6 separate regions of the Homo sapiens genome follow, and all the other regions are linked to region 3. The links are contacts of gene promoters, found by promoter capture Hi-C in blood cells and fetal thymus (Javierre and others, 2016). All regions are on one chromosome and are shown on one strand. Each heading gives the region's core, a stretch centred on a gene start or on the middle of the fragment in contact. The rest is flanking DNA. Distances are from core to core; before and after follow the strand shown. Region 1 has its middle 4.9 kb from the start of PGM1. Region 2 overlaps ITGB3BP (integrin subunit beta 3 binding protein). Region 3 holds the start of USP1 (ubiquitin specific peptidase 1). Region 4 has its middle 10 kb from the start of NFIA. Region 5 has its middle 35 kb from the start of NFIA. Region 6 overlaps EFCAB7 (EF-hand calcium binding domain 7).

The links. The method cuts DNA at HindIII sites, captures the fragments that hold promoters and counts their contacts. A CHiCAGO score of 5 or more calls a contact.
Region 1: a fragment that was not itself captured here is called in contact with the fragment with the promoter of USP1 in region 3 in 2 of 17 cell types (activated CD4 T cells and total CD8 T cells); the score reaches 8.6 in activated CD4 T cells.
Region 2: a fragment that was not itself captured here is called in contact with the fragment with the promoter of USP1 in region 3 in 1 of 17 cell types (total B cells); the score reaches 5.1 in total B cells.
Region 4: a fragment that was not itself captured here is called in contact with the fragment with the promoter of USP1 in region 3 in 2 of 17 cell types (non-activated CD4 T cells and fetal thymus); the score reaches 5.8 in non-activated CD4 T cells.
Region 5: a fragment that was not itself captured here is called in contact with the fragment with the promoter of USP1 in region 3 in 1 of 17 cell types (activated CD4 T cells); the score reaches 7.6 in activated CD4 T cells.
Region 6: a contact is called between a fragment that was not itself captured here and the fragment with the promoter of USP1 in region 3, in 8 of 17 cell types (total B cells, naive B cells, activated CD4 T cells and 5 more). The highest score is 15.1, in total B cells.

The regions. Positions count from the first base shown.
Region 1 is chr1:63,586,545-63,590,542 of GRCh38, reverse strand. No RefSeq gene overlaps it. Among named protein-coding and RNA genes, the nearest start is that of PGM1, 4.9 kb to the left of the region's middle. The HindIII fragment of the contact is 5,122 bases long and covers 1-3,998 here.
Region 2 is chr1:63,440,997-63,444,909 of GRCh38, reverse strand. ITGB3BP (integrin subunit beta 3 binding protein) reads left to right here. Exons shown (of 9, transcript NM_014288.5): 9 at 3,807-3,913. Among named protein-coding and RNA genes, the nearest start is that of ALG6, 75 kb to the right of the region's middle. The HindIII fragment of the contact is 685 bases long and covers 1,594-2,278 here.
Region 3 is chr1:62,434,780-62,438,934 of GRCh38, reverse strand. It overlaps USP1 (ubiquitin specific peptidase 1), which reads right to left and starts at 1,886. Exons shown (of 9, transcript NM_003368.5): 1 at 1,535-1,886. RefSeq lists a silencer at 1,230-1,289 and enhancers at 1,990-2,059, 1,884-2,651, 2,620-2,969, 2,652-3,419. The HindIII fragment of the contact is 3,360 bases long and covers 1-3,290 here.
Region 4 is chr1:61,070,743-61,074,403 of GRCh38, reverse strand. No RefSeq gene overlaps it. Among named protein-coding and RNA genes, the nearest start is that of NFIA, 10 kb to the left of the region's middle. The HindIII fragment of the contact is 3,582 bases long and covers 59-3,640 here.
Region 5 is chr1:61,045,173-61,049,328 of GRCh38, reverse strand. No RefSeq gene overlaps it. Among named protein-coding and RNA genes, the nearest start is that of NFIA, 35 kb to the left of the region's middle. The HindIII fragment of the contact is 9,690 bases long and covers 1-4,156 here.
Region 6 is chr1:63,526,334-63,530,213 of GRCh38, reverse strand. The region is part of intron 2 of EFCAB7 (EF-hand calcium binding domain 7); the gene reads right to left. It also overlaps a transcript of ITGB3BP not described here and the pseudogene RN7SL488P. Among named protein-coding and RNA genes, the nearest start is that of EFCAB7, 4.7 kb to the right of the region's middle. The HindIII fragment of the contact is 4,590 bases long and covers 1-3,880 here.

The DNA.
Region 1 (3,998 bases), core at 1,176-3,675, 1.2 Mb before region 3:
AGATATTTTAAGTCCAACCACCCATAGCCAGGTAGCCAAAACTTAAGTCATCCTTATTTCCCTGAAACACTTGCTCTAGACATAAACAAAACACAAAATGTCCTTGACAGTGTGAGTCAATGAAATTAAACCAATCAGCTATAGACAAATCAGCTTAACAGCTCTACTCGCCTTAAAAAGAATGTAACGAAGGTCAAAATACTTCTTCCTCAATGTTTATAAGCTGTACTGTAACTGCTGTGAGCTGGGCTTCTTGCCACTTTTGGTTAGATGTCTTCCAGTTTGTAAACTGTTCTTTGTATGCATGCTAAACTTTTAAAAATTTTTAAAGTTTGATCTGATTTTAACACAGCGCATTCAGATTGCTGGCAGGATCTATTTCCTTGCAGTTGTAGGATTGAGGTCCCCATTTCTTAGATTAGACCTACCTGGATAATCTCCCTTTGTAACGTGTTCATAGGAGTAATGTATCATCGTATTCACAGGTTCTACCCACGTTCAAAAATTGACTTGCAGAGATTTCCAAGTTGTAGTATTTATGAAAAGCAAGAGAAGGAGTCTTATTCCCCTGTGGGTAGCACTGAAATCGGGAAAGAAGCCATTGGAAATATACCAAGATATGCAACAATGATTACCACTGAGTTGCAAGATAGGGCAATGTTTATTTTCTTTATATTTTATCTGGATTTTCCAGGTTTTCTATAGGGAATTTGTATTATTTTTAAAATGATAAGTACATATTATGTATTTTCCTTTTCTTTGAAATACCTTTTAAGTGGTAATCCTTACTTTTTTTTTTTTTTTTTTTTTTTTGGAGACAGTCTCACTCCATCACCCAGGCTGGAGTGCAGTGGCACGATCTTGGCTCACTTCCACCTCCACCTCTGGGGTTCAAGCAATGCTCGTGTCTCAGCCTCCCAAGTAGTTGGAATTACAGGCACATGCCACTATGCCCAGCTAATTTTTGTATTTTTAGTAGAGATGGCGTTTCGCCATGTTGGCCATGCTGGTCTGGAACTCCTGACCTCAAGTGATCTGCCTTCCTCGGCCTCCCAAAGTGCTGCAATTACAGACATGAGCCGCCACACCCGGCCCTCATTATTTCATTAATGAATTATTCTTTACCATTTAGATGTATTCGTTCGTGTATTGATTCATTAACTCTATAAATATGTTTTGAACTTGTACTAAATGACAGCTCTTTGAAAGGTGTTTGATGAATAAGACAAAATAGTCTCGGCCGGGCGCGGTGGCTCACGCCTATAATCCTAGCACTTTGGGAGGCCAAGGTGGGCGGATCATGAGGTCAGGAGATCGAGATCATCCTGGCTAACAGGGTAAAAACCCATCTCTACTAAAAATACAAAAAATTAGCCAGGTGTCGTGGCAGGTGCCTGTAGTCCCAGCTACTCAGGAGGCTGAGGCAGGAGGATGGCGTGAACCCGGGAGGCGGATCTTGCAGTGAGCCAGGATCGCACCACTGCACTCCAGCCTGGGCAACAGAGCGAGACTCCGTCTCAAAAAAAAAAAAAAAGCAAAATAGTCTCTGGTCTCACAGATCTTGCAATATGTTGCAGGAGACAGATACTGAATAATAAATCATAATTGTGATAAGTGCAACAAAGAAGTATAGGTGCTGTTAGATTGTAAATAGAAGGATCTATCATTGGAGAGAGTCATGGACAATATCCTGGAGAAAGTGCTATGTAAGCTGAGGGATAAAACAATGAGTAATAGTACCTGGCCAGGTGAAAAGAGAGGAGGAGCATTTCATTCCAGAAAGAACGTTAAGGGAAGTTTAAAGTAAGAAGGAATCTAGTGTCATCAATAACTTGAAAAAAGACAGTTAGTGTAACTGGAGTATAAAAACCTCGGGGTGGAATGGTAGGTCTGATCATATTGGGCCTTGTAGGGGATGTCAGGTGTTGAGATCTTTATCATAACAGCAGTGAACAAACAAAAGCATTTTGTTTTCATTGTGGCAAGACATACGTAATGAAATTTACCATTTTAATGATTTTTAAGTGTACATTCAGTGGCACTAAGTACATTCACATTGTTGTGCAACCATTGTACCATCCATCTCCAGAACATTTTCATCTTCGCAAACTGAAACTCTGTACCCATGAAACAGTAACTCCCCATTCCCTCCTCCCTCCTACCCCTGAAAACCACTATTCTGTCTCTATGAATTTTACTATTCTCAAGTACAATCATATTTATCCTTCATTTGCATTCCAATTGCAATGATTTAAAGAAATGTATTTACTATAGGATAGCAATCTTTGATGACTGCAACAAATAATCAATGGTATGTATGTGAAATTTATAATAAAAAAGATGTATGGAGTTTATAATGAAAATACTGGATGGTGAAGTGGGTGATATAGTGGCATTAACATTTAACAGTTATTAGTTACATGGCTTATATAGAAACCAATTATCAAAGTGAGAAATATTGAAAAGTAATTCATTAACAACATATAGACAAAGCCTTAGCAGGCACCTATTTGGCATACAATAAAAGCATGTATCATGTTATTGTTAAAAACAAAACAGCTCTATATCTATGTATCCTCATCTTCCTGTCTGGTGGTGTCAAGTAATGGTGGAATAATCTATATTGAGGAATATTGAGGATGTCTACAGTTTAGGACTAGAATGTCCTAAACTAGTCTCTAACTAGAGACTAGTCTCTCAGTTAACAGAGCTCTAATAGAGTAAGTCAGTTGTAAATAATCTTCTATAAGAATGTACAGTTATTTGTAACTGGAAAATAATTGACAATTCCATATCAACCCAAATTAATGCTGAACAATATTGCAAATGTCATTTTAGTTCATTTATGCAGTCTAAATCATAGGTTCTTCTTGACTGCAGATTCAGTTTATTAAATCCTGATCTATTTGTAATTTGCTGAAATGACTAGTTCCTACATATGGAAGCAATATGAAACCGATGTCCGTTTGTATCCATAAGTTATTCAGGTGTTTAAAACTTTTACTTGAATAAAAGTTAATAGATATCTGCATGCTGTGATTCTGAAGTTTGTTCCTGTGCCAAAATAATAATAGTTTCTGAATTCATGTTTCAGTGTCAAGTGGTTATTCATGAGGCTATGTGTGAAAAGGATTGATATATGTGATAAATTGGACTTTTTCCTTAGAATTCATTTTTGGAATCTTCTATAAAGGATATCAGTCTGAATTAATTTATATGAATATTTGATATGCAAATATTAATATTTCAAATGGCAAAAGATAAGATTTTTAAAAATACAGATTGTGAAGGACATTTTTCAAGAGATAATGAATGTCTTCATTTTTCCATTTCATCAGTATTCTTGATTCCTTGTTAGATGCTGTGGTAGGTTAAATAATGGCTCCTAAAAGTTATACATTTCCTAATCCCCAGAATCTGTGAGTGTTACCTTATATGGCATAAATGAGTTTGCAGATATAATTAAGAATCTTGAGATGGAAAGATTATCCTGGATTGTCCAAGAGGGCTCTAAATGCAATTACAAGTGTCCTTAGAAGACAGAGAAAGGGGGACATTTGACTGCAAAAGAGGAGAAGGCCAAGGAGGCAGATTGGAGTGATGTAGTCACGAGCCAAGGAATGCTGGCAGACACCAAAAGCTGGATGAGACAAAAAATGCAGTCTCCTTTAAAACTTTCCAAGGAAGCACCACCCTGTCGTCACCTTGATTTTGGCCCAGTTATACTGATTTTGAAATTCTGGCCTCCAGAACTGTGAGAAAATAAATTTCTGTTGTTTTAAGCTACCAAGTTTGTGGTAATTTGTTACAGCACTTATAGAAAACTAATACAGATTGATATGGTTTGGCTGTGTCCCCACCCTAATCTCATCTTGTAGTTCCCATAATCCCCACATGTCATGGGAGGGACCTGGTGGGAGGTAATTGAATCATAGGGGCAGTTAACCCCATGCTGCTGTTCTTGTGATAGTGAGTGAGTTCTCACAAGACCTGATGGT
Region 2 (3,913 bases), core at 687-3,186, 1.0 Mb before region 3:
TTACTTTTATTTTATAGGTAAGGCAATTGAGGCACAAACGAGGTTAAGTACCTTGTCCCAGAATCACCTAAAACAGGGCCAGGATACTAAACTGAGTAGTCTGGTGCCAGTGCCTGTGCTCTTGCCACCACCCAGTAGTAATCTGTGAATGTCAGGTTTCACTACTGGCCAAGGTTTTTATATCCTGTTAAGTAAGGATAATATATAAATATTATCCTTATAAATCCTATATGTAATAGGAGATATATATATATTGTAATAGGAGATATATATATATCTCCTATATGTAATAGGAGATATATATATATTGTAATAGGAGATATATATATATCCTATTATGTAATAGATTATATATGTCCTATATGTAATATCCTACATATATGTACATATATACATATATATCCTATATGTAATATATATATCCTATATGTAATATATATATCCTATATGTAATATATATATAGGATATATATATCTTATATATATCCATCCACATACACTTATATTCATTCATTATAAGGTTACCATTTTACAAAATTTCTGACCCATGAAAATCCAACAGAGAACATATTAGGTGGTGATCATAGATACATCGTCACAGTTACACATTTAGTAAATGAACGTGCAACATTTAGTGTTTGATAATCTCTGTAATAAACTTACAGGGAATTCAGAGTACTGAGAATAGCTTTGTGTTAATGGATTTTAGTAAAGATAACCACATTTTGGGGTGTTCTTTTGAGTCTTTGAGTAATACTTTCAAGAAACTGGAAAGAATTAAGGTTGAGCTACCAGTCAACTTCCCTTTCAGTGAGAAGCAAAAGAGCAATGACAGTGAAATTAAGTGACTTCACCTTTGAGGCATTTCCCTCAGTTCTGCCTTTCACCATGTTTTCATCTCACTTTGAGCATTTCCTTCATTATCTCCTTCGTTCCCTGACTTTTCACTTTAGTGTATATGGTTTCCAAATTATTATAGTCTCCTGGGCTATAAACCCACAATCTCAGCTGCCATACAATGTCCCCCAAGTATACTGATTTCATCATTTCCCCTCCAAAGATGTTTTTCTTCTACCTTTCTAGGGATTATATCATTCCATTGGTCAAATTCTCTCTCTCTTTGTCCCCACATCCAAACGCTGCCAGATTATATTACTTCTGAGAATGCTTAATTCTCCTTTCCACACCCACTGTACCAGTTTATTTCTCCATTACCTCTCTTCCAGATTATCATTGTCCCTATTGTAACCTACCTGTCTGCACTTTGGTCCCTTTCCCCTACAGCCTATCCTGCTACTGGACAAATGTATGCTTTAGAAGGTATCACTCTACCATATGTATGATAAAATCCAAATTTAAACTGACATTCAGGAGTCTCCCTGATCTGCCCACAGCTTACCTTTCCAGTTTCTTCATTGTGCCTTATTCATTCCAGATTACTTGCCATTTCTCAGACACCTTCCCCAGAAAGTGCCTTTCTCATGTCCTTACCTTGGGTCTTGTCTGCTCAACCTAGCATGCCTTTTCCCTCATTATTGTCAAAATTTTACCCGTCTTTCAAAACCTGCTTAGAACTCATCTTCTGCATAAGCTTCCCCAAATCCCTCTCCCCCATATTCTCTCATTGCTCTTTTGTATATTTGTCATAGCTGCCTGACTGGTATGCGTAAGGGAGGATGTGAATGAAACTCCTGATTTTGTCCTTATGCCCTAGAAACCTGACAGTACTCCTGATATCACCGTGGCCAACTTCCCTACCTGCACAACTGCTCCAGCCCTCTGTCACACTTCAGTGATTATTCCTCTTGACCTGTAATTGTTCAGTGGGGAGGACTGTCCCATACAGATTCACTCCCAGAGCCTTTAAAAAGTGAAGCCTTTGTGAAACAATGCTAGAATAAGAGAGAAAGTAAGGGTGACAGCAACCCAGAGGCCACAGCCAGAGTGCTAAGACCATCAAAAGATGGGAAGAGAAAAACATTTTGGCTAATGATAACGGGATATTGGGATACTTTAGTAACAATGTGGATGAATCACTTGGGTAACACAAGGATGAGGCTTAGTATGAACAAAGCGCTGTGTATTATGACAGTTTGAAACCTAATAAGGACACAAAATATAAGGCAAGTTATGATAAATGATACAAGTTCAGACTCTTCTAAGTTCTGGCCAATAACAAGTACAAACAAGGATTGTGCATCCAATGAGGATCAAAGTATCAACTTGATTGGTGGTGGAATTGATAACCCCCAACATGGCAGGCTCTCTAGTAGAAGCTTGGGGTAACTAAGGTAGATTGCCTTAAAGCAGAAATGCAACCTCTTCTTTCTCACACTAAGTTTAAATCTTGAATTCTGTGCACTTTACTGAACCTAAAAGCTGGATCTTTTAAATAGACCCCCAAGTCCGTGTGACTGTTAATGCTGTGAAGACCACAAGCCTGCCTTTTACATGCTTGACTGCAGGTCAGCACAATAGAATGGGTTGGTCTCCCTACTACATGAAATTAGGAAGTATTATAATAAAAAAGGTCCACTGGGATTGAGAGTAGACAGTGATAGGGAAACTACAAGGAGGGAAGAATTTGTGTAATGTTACTAGTAAAATGTAGACCAATGAATGTTCTGGACTTTGGCCAATCAAATTTGTCACACTTCCATGGAGTACAGAGGAAGAGTTGACAGAAGTTTCTTCCCCTTCAGACTGAGAAGTATTATTCTCTACTGTAAGTACCAAATGAAGAATAAGCAGTGTTATGGGAATTCACAGCAGACAGATCACCTCAGGATGGGATTATCTGTTTGTTTGTTTTTGTTTTTTAAAGACAGGGTCTCGTTCTGTCGCCCTGGCTGGACTGCAATGGTGCAATCATAGCTCACTGCATCCTTGACCTCCTGGGCTCAAGCAGTCCCTCTGCCTTGGCCTAGGAGTACAGGCATGAGCCACCACCCCCAGCCTTATTAGGTCATTTTTAAAGATCTCTTCCCACATGCCCTGTGGTAATGTATGCCATTAGTTGCCAAAGGCTGCTTCCTTCAAGGGCTTTCTCTCACAGAAGGATTCTAAGGCTGAAGAGACATGAGCCTCTACCACCACTAGGAGTCCCCAGAGGGACATATTCTGAATAGGAATCTGTCATAGTAAATACTGTCTTTTGGGCGGGGGGCAGCTGTTGGAGGAAACACCTGCTGAAAGGCCCCTAAGGCTTATAGACAAAGGCATGTAAATAAGTTTTCTGTAGGCCCTGTTGGAGTTTTAAAATTCTCTGAGAAGTATCTCATGTAAGTATGGTCACATAAGGTAAAGAATACTGAGTGCTATGTCAGAGTAGTCATATTGACAGTTACTAGTGAAGATAATCAAAAAGCAAATAAGGCCGGGCACAGTGGCTCATGCCTGTAATCGCAGCACTCTGGGAGGCCGAGGTGGGCAGATCACGAGGTCAGGAGTTCAAGACCAGCCTGGCCAACATAGTGAAACCCCGTCTCTACTAAAAATACAAAAATTAGCTGGGTGTGGTGGCACACACCTGTAGTCCCAGCTACTCAGGAGACTGAGGCAGGAGAATCACTTGAACACGGGAGGCAGAGGTTGCAGTCAGCCGAGACCATGCCACTCCACTCCAGCCTGGGGGAGAGTGAGACTCCGTCTCAAAAGAAAAAAGCAAATGAGAGGTTGCCAGCAGCATCTAACTAAACTAGGTACCAAACTAGATTGTTATTAGGTGTTAAAATCACTTCTTAAGTCATGTATGACGTGCATGTTAACTAATTCTTGATAATATAATTATCTTTTATATCTCACAGGCATTAAGAAGAAATGCACTCACCATGAGCACCAACTTCTGCATCTGCCTGATCATATTTAAAGGAACAGAGAAATATTTGTAATTAATCTGCCCAGTAAATACCAG
Region 3 (4,155 bases), core at 637-3,136:
TAAAACACAAGCAAAGTTGAGACCGTGATAAAAAAAACTGTTCGATGCACTTTGTGTAAATCCAATTCTTAATGCACTAGAAACCACAATACTCGTTTTCCAAACTTTTTAAAAAACTTTGGATTTTAAAAATAGTGCTTTGAGTAGGAAAAAAAGATGATTTGGTTTGCCATTTGCAACTTTCCCACCCTGTTTTAAAGTAAAACTTGCACGTGAAAAAAAATGGCAACATTTGTAGGAGTGTAGGAGTTAATATTTTCTACATCAGGCCTATTTTTCAGGACATGGGAGGAAAAATTATCTGACTAGAGTATTACCATAAAATTACTTAAAGCCCAAAACTTCAGCAACGAGTTTCAAATTTAAAATGCAGAGTAATAAAATGAACTACACAAGACTCACTCAAATTTCATCCTTAATAAGCATTTCACATGGCTGACACTGATCTAGGAATTCATACTGAACTCAGCACACTGAAACCATTTCTGAGACCCAAATCAGGAAGCACTGGAAAGCTGATCCATCTCTCCATTCTGTCTCCAACTTCACTTACTCTCCTGTCTACCTAATGCTTCTGAGGAAGCGCTGTCTTCTGAATGATAAACCAACCTGCGCTAAGTTCTCAGGGATCGCCAAGCATTAATGATTCTGATAAAAGGTTTTTCTCGAGAGCCAATTTAATGGATGACAGAAACTGGATCTCAAACCGACAGAGTAACCAGACTACACAGAAGGGAAGAATGATTAGGCAGGTGAAATAGCGGATCGTCAGCTTAATCAAAAAACCAAACCTCCTAGCCCCTCAAAGCAAAGCTCACACCGAGAATGTAACATTTTGCCAGGTGCAGTATCTTCCTTGCTATTTCTTGCTCCTGGCTTTCCTTGTAACTGGGGGGCTGTTACATCCAAAATATTTCTCCTGTAACTAAATCAACTTTCGCAGAAAGCACGACGAATCGACCATTATCTGTTGACAGCGTGAACACTCAGTCCCAATAGTTTTAAATTCTTTATAAGATGACACGACTCGATTCCGATTTTTCAACAAAAATCTACAAGGACATCTTCGCCAAGGTTTAAGACACGCGGCGTTCTAAACACTTCTTGAAAAAGTGTAAGTGAAAGAAAATGCGCGGTAAAATTTCGCAATTACCGACACAGGGCAACCTGCGTGGAAACGTTTCTTTCTCCCCATCCTTCACCGCTCTCGGGAACGGAAAGAAAGCTGGAAGGACGAGCAGCGACCAGGCTGCCCGGTCGGGGGAGGCTGGCGGCGGCGTCCTCGGCCCACACCCCCGCGCCGGGCGCCCTCGCCGCGGAGTTGGCCTATTTACGCCCAGCCCGCACCTGCCTTCTCGCGTCCCGGCGGCGGCAAGACAGGCGCCACGCCCGAGGCACACACGGCTCCCCCTGGCAGGTCGACCAGGGTGCGAGGCCAACACGGTCCCGGGGTCTCCCCGGCAGCTCCTCTCCCGCGCCGGCCGAACTTGCCCCCGCGCCCGGGAGCCGGCCCCTCCTCCCAGGCCCTCCTTACCTGGTCATGGCCCAAAGCGAAGTCCGCGGCGGTGACGCCGGCAAGTCCAACCCGAATGAGTGTGGGTGCGACAGGTGAGTCCCTGCCCCGAGCCCGCCGGGTCCCCGGCCCCAGGAAAATCTGGTCGGCTCGCCCTCCCCGCGGGGGAGTGACCATCCGCTCCCAAGAGCGGGAACCCCGACCGCCGCTCGCTCCCGTCTTGCACCAACACCAACTACATCCCGGGAGCGGCGCCCATCTGCGCCCGCCCCGGGAGAGCCAGGAGCGCAACAAGCAGCGGCCCCGCTCGCCGAACGCCTGAACCGCTAGGGTCTTTAGCACTCCGCCACCGAGGGGAACTTGGCGCGTTTTCCTCAGTCTCAGGACCCCCGTGTTTTAGCCTCCGCCCGCGCCAGCGCTGCGATTGAACGTGGCGTCCTTTGAAATTGCCGGTTCCAGTCTCCACGCTGCAGAGACACGAAAGGCAGGAGCCGTCTCGCGACGGCCACTCGCCCCTGGCACGCACGGGCTCCGGAGCCAGCTGGGACTGTAGTTCCCCAAAAGCCTAACGGGTTCCACAGTTTCAAACAACGCAGGCACAGAGCCGGGCAGCTCGTGCGGGTCCTCGCTGAGGGCGCGCGCGAGGTGCTAGCGGCCTGGCTGGCGGGCTCGAGCCTCACACCCTTTTTTTAACCATTCGTGCGCGCGAGTTGAGGGAAAAGCGTACGGGTCGGGAGACGGGACAGAGAGCAGACGGGATGGGCCACCACCTCGAGAAGGAGCCCAAATTCACCAATCCATGATGAACAATCCCCAAAACCGCGCCTCCCACCGCCCGGGGGAAGCCAATCAGAAGTACCTAGACCAAAGCCAATTAGATGGGCGGGAGCAGCAAGCCCATCTAATAGCAAAAAAGAAGAAAGGTGGGCTCCAGCCAATCATTGTTCGACATACGGAGTGTTCCTCAGGCGCGGTGCCCCTCCTTCCGCTCTCATTGGCGCTCGAGTGCGCGCTTTCGCTGCCGACTGTTAAAATCTTGTTTGGCGTTTTGTTAATCCTCGACGGTGGGACGCCGCGGAGGGTGCGGCTTCCGGAGCGAGGCCCTCGCGGTAAGCCCCGCCTCCGTTCGTGCGTACGCGCCCGGGCGGGGTTACCAAGAGAGCAGCTTCGGAAAATGGCTGCCCGGCTGGACGCCGCCGCGCTTGGGCTTTCAGTTCGGAGTCGCGGCCACACTAGGCCTAGGGCCATCCAATGAGACAAGGCGCTGCCACGGATAACAATACATGCTCAGGCGAATGCTGTAGAGCTGAGGCCCGGTCCTCAGCCCCTGCTCGCCTCATTTTCGCCTGTTTACCTCTTCCCTTTCTCGGCCGCAGGAGGAAACGAAAGAACAGTTTCAGGCCCAGCTCCGGCCGCGGGAGCTTCCCAGGGTTCCCGCGCGAGCCCTCCCAAAGGGTTCAGGAGCGGCAGGCAGGCCTCATCTGGTTGTGTGCTTCCTTTTGTGTTTGTGTGCCTGCTTTGGTGAGGTGACCTCAGCTCAAGTGCTGCAGTTAAGCAGGATACGTTCAGCCCAAATCCATTTAATCAAGTATTTTTAAGGTGCCTACTATGTGCCAGGCATTTTTCAAGGCGCGAGGGATGTAAAGGCATTCCCTGTCATAAAGGAGCATTACATTCTGGAGAGGGAGATACAAGTGACGCTAAGATAAGTGATAGATACGATAGCCTGGAAAGACCTCTTTGAGTTGACATTTGAGCAGAGCTGAATGAAAAAGCTTGGAGGAATCTGAGGGAAGAATGGTGCGGGCAGAGAGAACAGCAAGTTACAAACGTCCTGAAGCTTAATGTGGTTGGTGTTTTGAAAAGAAGCAAGGAGGCCAGGGCGCTTAGAGCGCAGTCAATTTGGGAAATAAGATGGGAGGAGATGAGATGAGTGAGAAAGGCAGGACCCTGGGTAAGCCGAGTAAGGAGATGGGAGTCGTTAGATGATTCTGAGCTGGGGAGTGGCGGGATTACACGTTGACCTTCAAGAGTACAAGCAGGGTCGGGCGTGGTGGCTCACGCTTGTAATCCCAGCACGTTGGGAGGCCAAGGCGGGCTGATCTCTTGAGGTCGGGAATTCGAGACCAGCCTGACCAACATGGAGAAACCCCGTCCCTACTAAAAATACAAAATTAGCCGGGCGTGGTGGCGCAGGCCTGTAATCCCAGCTACTCCGGAGGCTGAGGCAGGAGAATCGCTTGAACCCAGGAGGCGGAGGTTGCGGTGAGCCGAGATCGCCTCACTGCACTCCAGCCTGGGCAACCAGAGCAAAACTCTGTCTCAAAAAAAGAAAAGTACCAGCGGAAAGGTCAGCCAAGATGCTGGTTCAATAAGCCAAGGAATAAATTATGGTAGTCTGGAATAAGATGGTGGGATGTTGAAAACTGGTAGGGTTCAAGATATATTTTGAGCACAGCCAACGAGCTCTACTGATGGATTGGCTGTATGATAATGTAAGAAAAAACAGGTCGGGTAGCCAGGGCCGGTGGACCGCTTGAACCCAGGAGTTCAAGATCAGCCTGGGCAACATGGCAAGACCCATCGCTACAAAAAACTCCAAAAATTGGCCGTGCGTGGTGGCACGTGCCTGTAGTCCCAGC
Region 4 (3,661 bases), core at 600-3,099, 1.4 Mb after region 3:
GTGCTAAGAGCTAGGGATACAGCAAAGAATGAGACATTATCCCTGCCTCTAACAAGCTTTCAGTGCAATGGGGTAGATAAGACATAAAGCTAACTAATAGTGTAATGTAATAAGCGTTATGTCCAACATATATATATATATATATATACACACATATATATGTATAAAATGGGCAGTGGTGATAGAATGATTCATTTTGTCTGGGTCATTAAGGCAGAGACAGTCATTAAGGCCTAAAAAAGAGACATTTGTGTTGGGACAGAAATATGCATTAGTCAGGTAGACAGGTGAGGGGCAGGGCATTCCTCTCCAGGAAAACGCAATGATGTCAGTGTATGCAACAGGCCAAAGAATGGGGATGTATTCAATTGTGGCTAGTTGTCTAGTTAGGATTAGCTTGTATAGTCATGTGTCACTTCATGACAGGGATACATTCTGAGAAATACGTTGTTAGGCGATTTAGTCGTTGTAAGAACATCGTAGAGTATACTTGCAGAAACCTAGATGGTATAACCTTATACACACCTAGGCTATGTGGTATAGCTTATTGCTCCTAGGCTCAGCTCTGTACAGCAGGTTACTCTACTGAATATTATAGGCTACTGTAACACAATGGTAAGCATTCCTATATCTAAACATAGAAAAGGTACAATAAAAATACAGTATTATATAATCTTATAGGACCACCATTGTATCTGTGGTCTCTCATTGACTGAAACGTCCTTAGGCGGCACTGGACAGTATTACTGTAACTAGAGATGACCTTAGAAAGGCAGGCAGAGCCAAGGTGGTGGAGAGCATTGTGAACCCTTTGAACCTTCACTGGAGGGGCTGTATTTAACCAAGAGATATACAAAATAAGATTTACAAATTAGAAATATCATTCTAGTAGTGGAGGCAAAGAGAGTGGTTAGAAAGATATGAGAAAAGATGCAGTCCTGAGCTATGGCACCGCTGGAATGAATGAGAAAAAGAGAGAAAGGGAAGAAGGAGTAGAGCATGAAAGAGAGGTAAGGAAACAAGGAAGACCCTCCGCTGATACTGGTTTTCGGGGACTTTGATCAACAGAGGCAATTTAGGAGTAAATTTTTCCCAGACTCTTCTCAAAATTCAAATAGCCAGAAGATGTATAATAAGATCTGTTAGTGAAATAGGCTCTACTTACTCCACAAATTGCTGCTTCTAATATCCTTAAACCTAATATTAAATAATATTAAAATAATACCAGTAATAGTAGTTCACATGGCTTAAACGTTTACACTACATCAATTCTTCCCACCTTTGTGAATTTGCATTCCAGTAACCTTGGCTCCACCATGCCACTGGAAATCAGGTGCAAATCTAGTAGGGTGAATTTGGGTTGCTAACCCCATTGAGAGCCTCATGTTTCTGTGTAGGTTGGCTTTATGCCTTGAAAATAGTAGGCTCTTCCAGGAATTTTGCTTTGTTGACCCAAATAAAAACTTAATCCTCTTGCAAGACATTGATATGGAAACTAGAATGTTAGAGTTTTACAGAATTAGAAACATAATTCAAAATTGCAATATTTTTCTAATAATCAACTTAAGTTTTAATTTGTGAACGAAGTTGAATGTTGACACACAGAGATATATTTCACATTTTCTTGATTTGCCTGTATAAATCCTAGATCATTCAAATCACTTTTTAGACAAAGTAATCAACACAGGCATTCAAAGGACACACATTGCAATATAAATGATAAACACTACAAGCGAAATTAATCTAGGAATTGATGAGGTTCCCAAATAAGCAAGTTGTGGCAGACTATTGCCTCCCCACTCCCAAATCTGTTCTTTCTCTATTCTTAGATACACAGATGAGCTATTTAAAGTCAATATTAGGCTGAGCACAGTGGCTCACACCTGTAATCCCAGCACTTTGGGAGGCCAAAGCAGGCAGCTCGCTTGAGGCCAGGTGTTCGGGATCAGCCTGGCCAACATGGTGAAACCCCATCTCCACTAACAATACAAACATTCTCTGGGTTTGGTGGCACACATCTGTAGTCCCAGCTACTCAGGAGGCTGAGGCAGTAGAATCGCTTGAACCTGGGAGGCGGAGGTGCAGTGAGCTGAGATCATGCCATTGCACTCCCGCCTGAGCAAAGGAGCGAGACTCCAGCTCAAAAAAAAAAAAAAAAAAAAAAAAGTTCCTCAAGAGAGTTTGATCCCTCCCTACCATGTTTGAGAACCAATCCTATTAAAATAAAATCCTAATAAAATAAAAATAAAGTTAATATTTCCTAGCCTTCCTTGCAACTAAATATGACACATGATTAAGTTCTGTGAGCAGAATTGTTGGCTGCAACTTCATGACACTTGCTTAAAAGAAATTTGTCCTGGGCCAGGCATAGTGGCTCATGCCTATAACCCCAGCCTTTTCAAAGGCCAAGGCAGGAGGATCACTTGAGCCACAGGAGTTCAAGACAAGTCTGGGCAACATAGATAGACTTTGTCTCTGCAAAAAATAAAAATAAAAAATTTAGCTGGGCATGATGCCACACATCTGTAGTCCCTGATACTCAGGAGGCTGAGGCAGGAGATTGCTTGAGCCCTGGAGATTGAGGCTGCAGTGAGCTATGATCACACTACTGCATTCCAGCCTGGGCAATAAGAGTGAGATCCTGTCACAAAAAAAAAAAAAAAGGAAAGAAAGAAAGAGAGAAAGAGGAGAAAGAAGATAAAGAGGAGAAAGAAATGAGTGAAGGAGGGAAGGAGAAAAGGAAAAGGAAGGAAAGGAAGGAAGGGAGAAAGGTGGTGGGGAGCAGCAAGGGGAGAGAGAGAAGAAAGAGAAAGAAAGGAAAGAGAGAAAGAGAGAGAGAGAAAGGAAAGAAAGAAAGAAAGAGAGAAAAGAAAGAAAAGAAAGAAAGAAAGATAGATTTGTCCTGAACTTGTGGCCCTTTCCAAAGACAGCAATGATACTGAAATACCAACTTCAACTACAAAGACCCGGACAATTCCCTGGGAGACAAAAGAGCTACGGGATGAAAGGAACCTGCGTTCCTAAATAACCTCCTGGAGCAGAGCCGCTTCTCCAGCATAGATTATATTTAGGCTACCGTAGTTGTGTTTTTTTTAAGCTACAGTGTTTTCAGGTCTCCGATACAGCAGCCTAATCTTCTCTATAACTAATAATCAAGATTACAAAACAATCTCATGGTATATTTGAATTGTTTTCTCTCTGAAATCTCATGGCCTTTCTCCAATTTGGTATATAATATATCTAATTTTTTTATCAGCCTACTTTTCCAGACTCCCCTCCTGCTCAGTCTCTCTCGGCTGCCTCCTCATCCTAGCCACAAAAAATGACTGAGTTTTCCCTTTTTATCACCTCCCAAATATACCATACATGTTCATCCCTCTTTTTCCTTGTTTGTATGATTCTTTTTGCCCAGAAGACCCTGAAGTTGTCTCCCTGTTTCACCCATTTTCTCAAGGACCAATTTAATGTTGTTTCCCAACTCCCATAGGCGGAATTGGTCAATCTCCTCTGTGTTCTCTAACATCTTACACTCATCTAAGACCGCTCTCTTCACATTCTACATCAGTTATTTATTTGTGTGTCTGTCCACTGAGCTATGGGCTTCTTGAAAATGCAGTTATTTTATTCATCCTTGAAAGCTTATAAGCAAAGTGCCACAGTA
Region 5 (4,156 bases), core at 495-2,994, 1.4 Mb after region 3:
TTTCACCATGTTGGCCAGGCTGGTCTCAATCTCCTGATCTCAGGTGATCTGCCCGCCTCGACCTCCCAAAGTGCTTGGATTACTGGGATTACAGGCCTGAGCCACCGCACCCAGCCAACTTTCACCTATTTCTAATGTGAAAACCCATCTTTTATTCTAAGAAATCTAACTTGTAAGACTGTTTAGCTTCTTTCTGTTCCTTGAAGATTAGGGCCTTAGAGGAAGTGGGAGAGAGCTAAGAGGTTTCAGTGTTTGAGTAGGAAACAGGATGGGTTATGGGGAGTTTTGATAACTAGCTTATCTCCTCATAGACAACGGCTGTAGGCCGGGTGCTGTGGCTCACATCTGTAATCCCAGCTCTTTGGGAGGCCGAGGTGGGCGGATCACCCGAGGTCAGGAGTTCGAGACCAGCCTGGCCAACATGGCGAAACCCCATCTCTAATAAAAATATAAAAATTACTTGGGCGTGGTGGTACATCTGTAATCCCAGCTTCTCAGTAGTCAAGCAGGAGAATCACTTGAACCTGGGAGGTGGAGGCTGCAGTGAGCCGAGATCACACCACTGCGCTCCAGCCTGGGCAACAGAGTGAGACTCTGTCTCAGAGAAAAAAAAAAAAAAAAAAAAGACAATGGCTATGTGGTGGCTCAAGCCTGTAATCCCAGTGTTTGGGAGGTGCGCGGGTCACTTGAGCCCAGAGGCTGGAGACCAGCCTGAGCAACACAGAGAAACCCATTTCTACAAAAAAAAAAAAAAAAAAAAAAAAAAAAAAGCTGGGCGTGGTGGCCCATGCCTGTAATCCTAACTACTTCGACAGCCAAGATGGAAGGATGGCTTGAGCCTGGGAGGCTGAGGTTGCATTGAGCTGAAATGGCACCACTGCACTCCGGTCTGGGTGACAAGCTAGAACTGTCTCAGAAACAACAACAAAACGAACCAAAAAAACCAAACAACATCTTATATTTGTGGATGACTTACTATTACTATTTACTATTTTTATTATCATTTGCCTCTATTAAATGATTTAATTATCATTTTCACAATCTCATATGGTATACATTATCCCTATTTATTTATTTATTTATTTAAAGACAGGGTCTCTCTCTGTCACCCAGGCTGGGGTGCAGTGGCACAATCATAGCTCACTGCAGCCTCAAACTCCTGGGCTCAAGGGATCCTCCTGCTTTGGCCTCCCAAAGTGCTGGGATTATGAGCATGAGCCATTGCGTCTGGCCCATTATCCCAATTTTAAAGATGAGGAAACAAAGACATGGGGATGCAAGCCATAGTTGCTGTATTTTTTCTGCTTTTAAAAATATTTTTTGGCAGGTCACAGTGGCTCACGCCTGTAATCCCAGCACTTTGGGAGGCCAAGGCAGGTGGATCACCTGAGGTCAGGAGTTCGAGACCTGTCTGGCCAAAACAGGGTGAAACCCTGTCTCTACTAAAATACGAAAATTAGCAATTAGCTGGGTGTGGTGGTGGGCACTGTAATCTCAGCTACTTGGGAGGCTGAGGCAGGAGAATTGCTTGAACCCAGGAGGTGGAGGTTGCAGTGAGCTGACATTACAGCACTGCACTCCAGCCTCGGCGACAGAGCCAGATTCTGTCTCAAAAAAAAAAAAAAATTTTTTTTTTTTTACTCTAGGAGCCCTAGATCTGTATTTCACTATATTTCAGAATCTACCTTTTTTTTTTTCTTTTAGAGTTGTGATCCTGCTATGTTGCCCAGGCTGGAGTGTAGTGGCTGTTCACCGATACGGTGATAGCATACTTGTAGCCTTAAACTCCTGGTCTCAAGGGATCCTCCTCCCTCAGTCTCCTGAGTAGCTGGTACTGAAGACTCAAGCCACCATGTCCAGTCAGAATCTAACTTTAACATTAATCTACCTTTAAGTTTACCTACTGTGTGCTAGATTACTAGATTAGGAATTTTAAATATCAAGTGTCGTATAATTCTCACAACACCTTTGTGAAGGAAGACTAACTTCTGTCATCACAGAAGAGGAAGGAGAGGTTCAGGGAGATCAAGTGAGTCACTTAAAGTCTCATAGAGAAGTGGCAGAGCCAGGTTATGGAGAGCCCAGATCTCCCAGCACACACCCAGGTGTCTTCCACTGCATTACAAGTGGAATGTAATGCATTCCACTTGGCTGCATTACAGCCAAGAACGCACCAACTGGCTCTAGGGTACTTAAAAAAGTTATCAAGAAAGATCAGGCAGAAGGGTGGCTTGCTCGGTACTTTTGCTACACTAAAGATGTGGTAAAAGATGGTGTTTTCAGCCTCAGTTAATTGTAGATTATAATGTTTCCTAGGAAAATATTGATGATGGAAGAAGGGAGCAGGGGTGCATTGGGAGAAACCAAGAATGAGTGAATTTGTAATTTTATAAATATCAATAATTTATATTTATTTTATGACCAAACTGACCAAATGTCATTTTAGTGTATACATTACAATGAAAAGTTTAGTATAATCTAGCTATTGTCAAATCCTGGCATCTAAACTATAGTCATAGAGCTTTGTCGATCTGGTTATGGAAATTATTTACAATAGGTGTTTTTGTATAGCAAATGTTTTTGCTGGTCTGTATCCATGTAATAGGAACATTTTATGATGAAAGGACTGGATTGTTCAGGGAAGCAAATTATGCTTCTTTCAGGAGTGTTGTTTTGTCATTGTGCAACAATTACTCATTAGTTCCCCTTCTTCTTACTTACCTAAGTAGCAAACCAACCCGTTCATCATTCCTAACCAGAAAACGCCTTTCCATCCCCCAAAACAACTGAACTCATCAAAAGGTGTGGAGTTACTGATAGAAGGGTTTGAGTTGGGCATTGGATGTAAAGGTGTGCATTCCATCTTCTTTCTCCCACTGGGTCCAGCCATGATGCTTTTGCTTGCCAACACAATATCGTGAGCTCAGACTTTGGCAATTCATCTCTGGTTTCTTTACACTGAGAGTGTTTCTAATAATATAATAGATTTTCATTTTGAAACAGATGCCACAGAGGATTCGTTAGCAGGAAAACCCTACTGTGTAACTAACACTATAAAGTTACCAAATGTAAGGTTGGGTGGTTAGATTGTTAGCTTTTGGGGACCAGTTGGTAATTAGATAAGGGGGCTTTGTAAAGAAAAACCAGTTGAAACCAACACATATTAATGGAATGTATTTTGTATATTCTACACTGTTCTAGGTGCTAGGTGCTAGCAGAAATATGGAGAAATACAAGAGTATTTCTCCCAACATTTGCATTATTAGTTTTAGGGTAAAATTTTCTCCCATTCTCCCATTTTTCAAGTTCATGCCTTAGTTTCGTTATAATAAAATCATGAGGATAATGTTCAAAGAACATATACCCTAGCTCAAACATTAAGCTGATAAATTTTCTTCCTGAAATTACTATCTTCATTCTAGAATTTTAATGTTTCTCATTTCATCATCTTCACATAGCTAGGGTGACTTGAGAACAGACTTTAGGACTTCCATGTCATGGAAACACACATTGATTGGTGTAAGAGTGTGGATTGGATAGGTATATTTCTGGAAACCTTAGCTACTTCTTTTTGGTACCATTTCCCAAAAATGAGCAATCCAGGGCTTTTTTTTGGTAAATAAAGGGCAGAGCTGTGATCCAGTCTATAGGCCACTTTGGTCATTTATTTATTTTGACACAGAGTCTCGCTCTGTCACCCAGGCTGGAGTGCAGTGGTGTGATCTCAGCTCGATGCAACCTCTGCCTGCTGGGTTCAAGCAATTCTCCTGCCTCACTCAGCCTCCCGAGTAGCTGGGATTATAGGCATGTACCACTACGCCCGGCTAATTTTTGTATTTTTGGTAGAGACAGGATTTCACCATGTTGGCCAGGCTAGTCTCGAACTTATGACCATTCACCTGCCTTGGCCTCCCAATGTGCTGGGATTACAGGTGTCAGCCACCGCACCAGGCCTATAGGCCACTTTGAAACTCATTACTGTTCTTCATATCACCTGTGTTGAATCAGAGCATTGACCTTCCCAAGTCCCAGTCTCAGTACTTCAGAATGTGGGTATCTCCCTGAGTCAATTGCAGGGCACAGGCTGTTCTGTGTAGTTTCAGCTTTGGGAAAGCAGATACTTATTACAGTGAAATGACTTTTTACAACAGACAGG
Region 6 (3,880 bases), core at 688-3,187, 1.1 Mb before region 3:
AAACAATTTCACTAAAGAAATATCCTCATGGAAATAGAAACCAGATCAGGGTAATAAATACAGATATAAGTGAGTCAGTTATATTGAACATTATTGTGCACAAGTATAGTATAGGGTGATTTTTGTTCATCAATACAAACTTTTTAGTTCCAAAGAAATTTTATATTCTAGACTGGCGTGGTGGCTCACACCTGTAATTTGGGTTTACAATTATACTTTGGGTGGCCGAGGTGGGCAGGTCACCTGAGGTCAGGAGTTCAAGACCAGCCTGGCCAACATGGTGAAACCCTGTCTCTACTAAAAATACAAAAATTAGCCGGGCCTGGTGGCCTGCGCCTGTAATCCCAGCTACTTGGGAGGCTGAGGCAGGAGAATCGCTTGAACCTGGGAGGCGGAGACTGCAGTAAGCCGAGATTGAGCCACTGTGCTCCAGCCTGGGTGACAGAGGAAGACTGCATCTCAAAAAAAGAAATTTTATTTTATTATTATTATTATTTTTTGAGATGGAGTTTGGCTCTTGTTGCCCAGGCTGGAGTGCAATGGTGTAATCTCGGCTCACTGCAACCTCTGCCTCCCGGGTTCAAGTGATTCTCCTGCCTCAGCCTCCCGAGTAACTGGGATTACAGGCATGCACCACCACCCCCAGCTAATTTTGTATTTTTAGTAGAGACGTGGTTTCTCCACGTTGGTCAGGCTGGTCTCAAACTCCTGACCTCAGGTGATCCGCACGTCTCGGCCTCCCAAAGTGCTGGGATTATAGGCATGAGCCACCGCGCCTGGCAAGAAATTTTATAATCTAAATAGGAAGTCTACATCTGACTGTAAAATTGCTATCTATGGCCATAACTCATGGGTTATAACATATTAAAAATCCATAAATAAAATTCTCTTCTCCTCTAGATTATGCCAGTGACTTTCAGAGCTAACAGAAGTTGTAGTTGTGGTAACCGCCATCTTCCATATACCTATAAAGGCTTTGTGGAAATTCATTGCATTGGAGATAATATAAATGTTTTTATTCCCACAGTTTTATTTTGGATGTCGACAAAAGCCCTGATTACCATGCTGCCCTAGCAACAACAGGTAAGTAAGTATTTTGCCTAGTGTGTAAATGAACTATTCCTTAATTCAGCTGTTTACAGAATCAAAGAAATGGCAATATGTGTTTTAGGATTCCAACCCCAGCCAGCTCCTACCCTTTAAAAGCTGGGAATACAAGTAGATGTAAATGAAGTTGTAATTTTTTTTTTGCCTCTAAAATATTTTTATTTTAAAAAGGCTTAGTGTGCAAAGATGTTTATCATATTGCTACACTACTGCTACTAATAATAAAGGAAACAATGTTCAAAGAATCAAGGAGTGGTTAACTGAATCATGGTACATATACAGAACACATTTACACAACTACTAAATTATTTTTATGACAATGAATATTATATAAAATTTCCTGCAAAATTTCTTCCTTATTGTTAAGCCTAAAGTGCCTTTTTTCTAAGGTTCTTTTTTTTAAATCTTTAATTTTTGGAGATACATAGTAGGTGTATAATATGAGATTTTTTGATACAGGTATGCAATAATTACATCAGGGTAAATAGGGTATCTGTTGCCTCAAGCATTTATCCTTTGTTTCAAACAATCCAATTATACTCTAATTATTTTAAAATGTACACTTAAATGATTTTTTTTACTAGTGTCACCCTGTTGTGCTAGCTAAATACTAGGTCTTATTCTTTCTATTTTTCTATTTTCTATTTTCTCCCCCTACCCCCACTACCTTTCTCAGCCTCTGGTAACCATCATTTTACTCTCTATCTCCATGAGTTCAATTGTTTTAATTTTTAGCTCCCACAGATAAGAAAGAATGTGTGATGTTTGCCTTTCTGTGCCAGGCTTATTTCACTTAACATGATGACCTCCAGTTCTATCCATGTTATTGCAAATGACAGGATCTCATTCTTTTTTATGATAGCTGAATGGTACTCCACTGTGTATATGTACCACTTTTTTTATTTTTATCCATTCATCTATTGATGAACTCTTACGTTGCTTCCAAATTTGGGCTATTGTGAATAGTGCTGCAGTAAACATGGGAGTGCAGATATCTCTTCAATATGCTGATTTCCTTTTGGATATATACCAAGCAGTAGGATGCTAGATCCTATGGTAGCTGTATTTTTAGTTTTTTGAGAAGCCTCCAAACTGTTCTCCACAGTGGTTGTACTAATATACATTCCTACCAACAGTGTAAGAGGGTTCCCTTTTCTCCACATCCTTGCCAGCATTTGAAGTCCACATGAAAGAAAATTATATCTTCTGTTCAGTTTTGAGAAAAAAGGTATGTAACTTTTTCTCACAAGTGGTAGCTTAGCATATGCTTGCTGCTATCTTTAGTAACAAAGAAAATATTGTTTTAAAAAATGTACTGGTAATTAGACAAGAACAACTTTCTCAGAATAAAATTAATTATGCCAAAACATGTACTCAGTAAGCAGATGTCCCCATAGCTAAGAAATTGATACAATCTATTTCCTACTAACTTTAATCTCTAGGTTTAGAATTAGCTGGATCTAATGATTAAGTTTGATGATAGTAAAAATATCACGTAGCTGTAGATATTTAAATTTTGACACCATGATATGGATCTTTTGCCAGGGTTTACTTTAAAGTTCTGACATGCATCTATAATCCTGTATTATTTATAAATTGACAAAAAAGGAACTTAAAGCTATAGTAATGCTACCGCTGTCTCTGACCTTAAAATGGAAATGCACATAAGTGGCAGAAGGATATAGATGAAAGGTGTAGCAAGAAGCAGCAGCTCTAGTTCATGTTACTCCTTTTTAAAAAATAGTTTATCTAAAATCAATTATTACAACGTTAAGAGAGTATTCCACCCTAAAACCAAAAGTGTATATAACACTGAAGAGACAAACACTGTATAGTTATCCTCCCAGATAATTTCATAAGATTGATAGCACCTTAGTAATACATACACATTGATTCACAAACTAAATGCCATAGTAGTGGAAGGCATGTTAAACTTTTAAACTTAGCAGATTCCTTCTCTTAGTATATTTTCAAAACAGTAACAAAAAAAAACTCGGATTATTTTAGAAATAATGGCAAATTAGAAGTAATTTTAATTTATTGGCCAGGCGTGGTGGCTCACGCCTATAATGCCAGCACTTTGGGAGGCCGAGGCAGGCAGATCACCTGAGGTCAGGAGCTCGAGACCAGCCTGGCCAACATGGCAAAACCCCGTCTCTACTAAAAATACAAAAATTAGCCAGGCATGGTGGCGTGCAACTGTAATCTCAGCTACCCAGGAGGCTGAGGCAGGAGAATCGCTGGAACCCAGGAGGCAGAGGCTGCAGTGAATCAAGATCGCGCCACTGCACTCCAGCCTGGAAGACAGAGCAAGACTCCGTCTCAAAAAAAAAAAAATTTATTGGATGTCTGCCTAAACATTTAATGTATATGAATTAAACACAAATACTTAAAATTCAAAATAGAGCATTTTAGTAATTTTAAAATTATGTAAATCAAAATTAAACATGACTTTAAAAGTCAGTCATGTGCATTTGCATTTAAACTACTTTACAAATAATGTATTTTATTTAGACATCAAATAAATTTTAATCTTGTCAATTCTTGTATTCCTCAAAATACATTTCCTCAAATAGATCTTATTGGATACAAACTCAAGACACTGCTGCACAAATATGTCAGGGTTTTGGTTTAAGAAAATTCATTATAAAATTGGCAAAATAACTCAGTTTCTCTACCCATAAAGTTATTAGCCTTGATGAAACTGACATGAGTAGTCAGTGTTATCTAGTACTGTTGTTTACTACTCTCTCATGACTAAAGATGTCCAAAT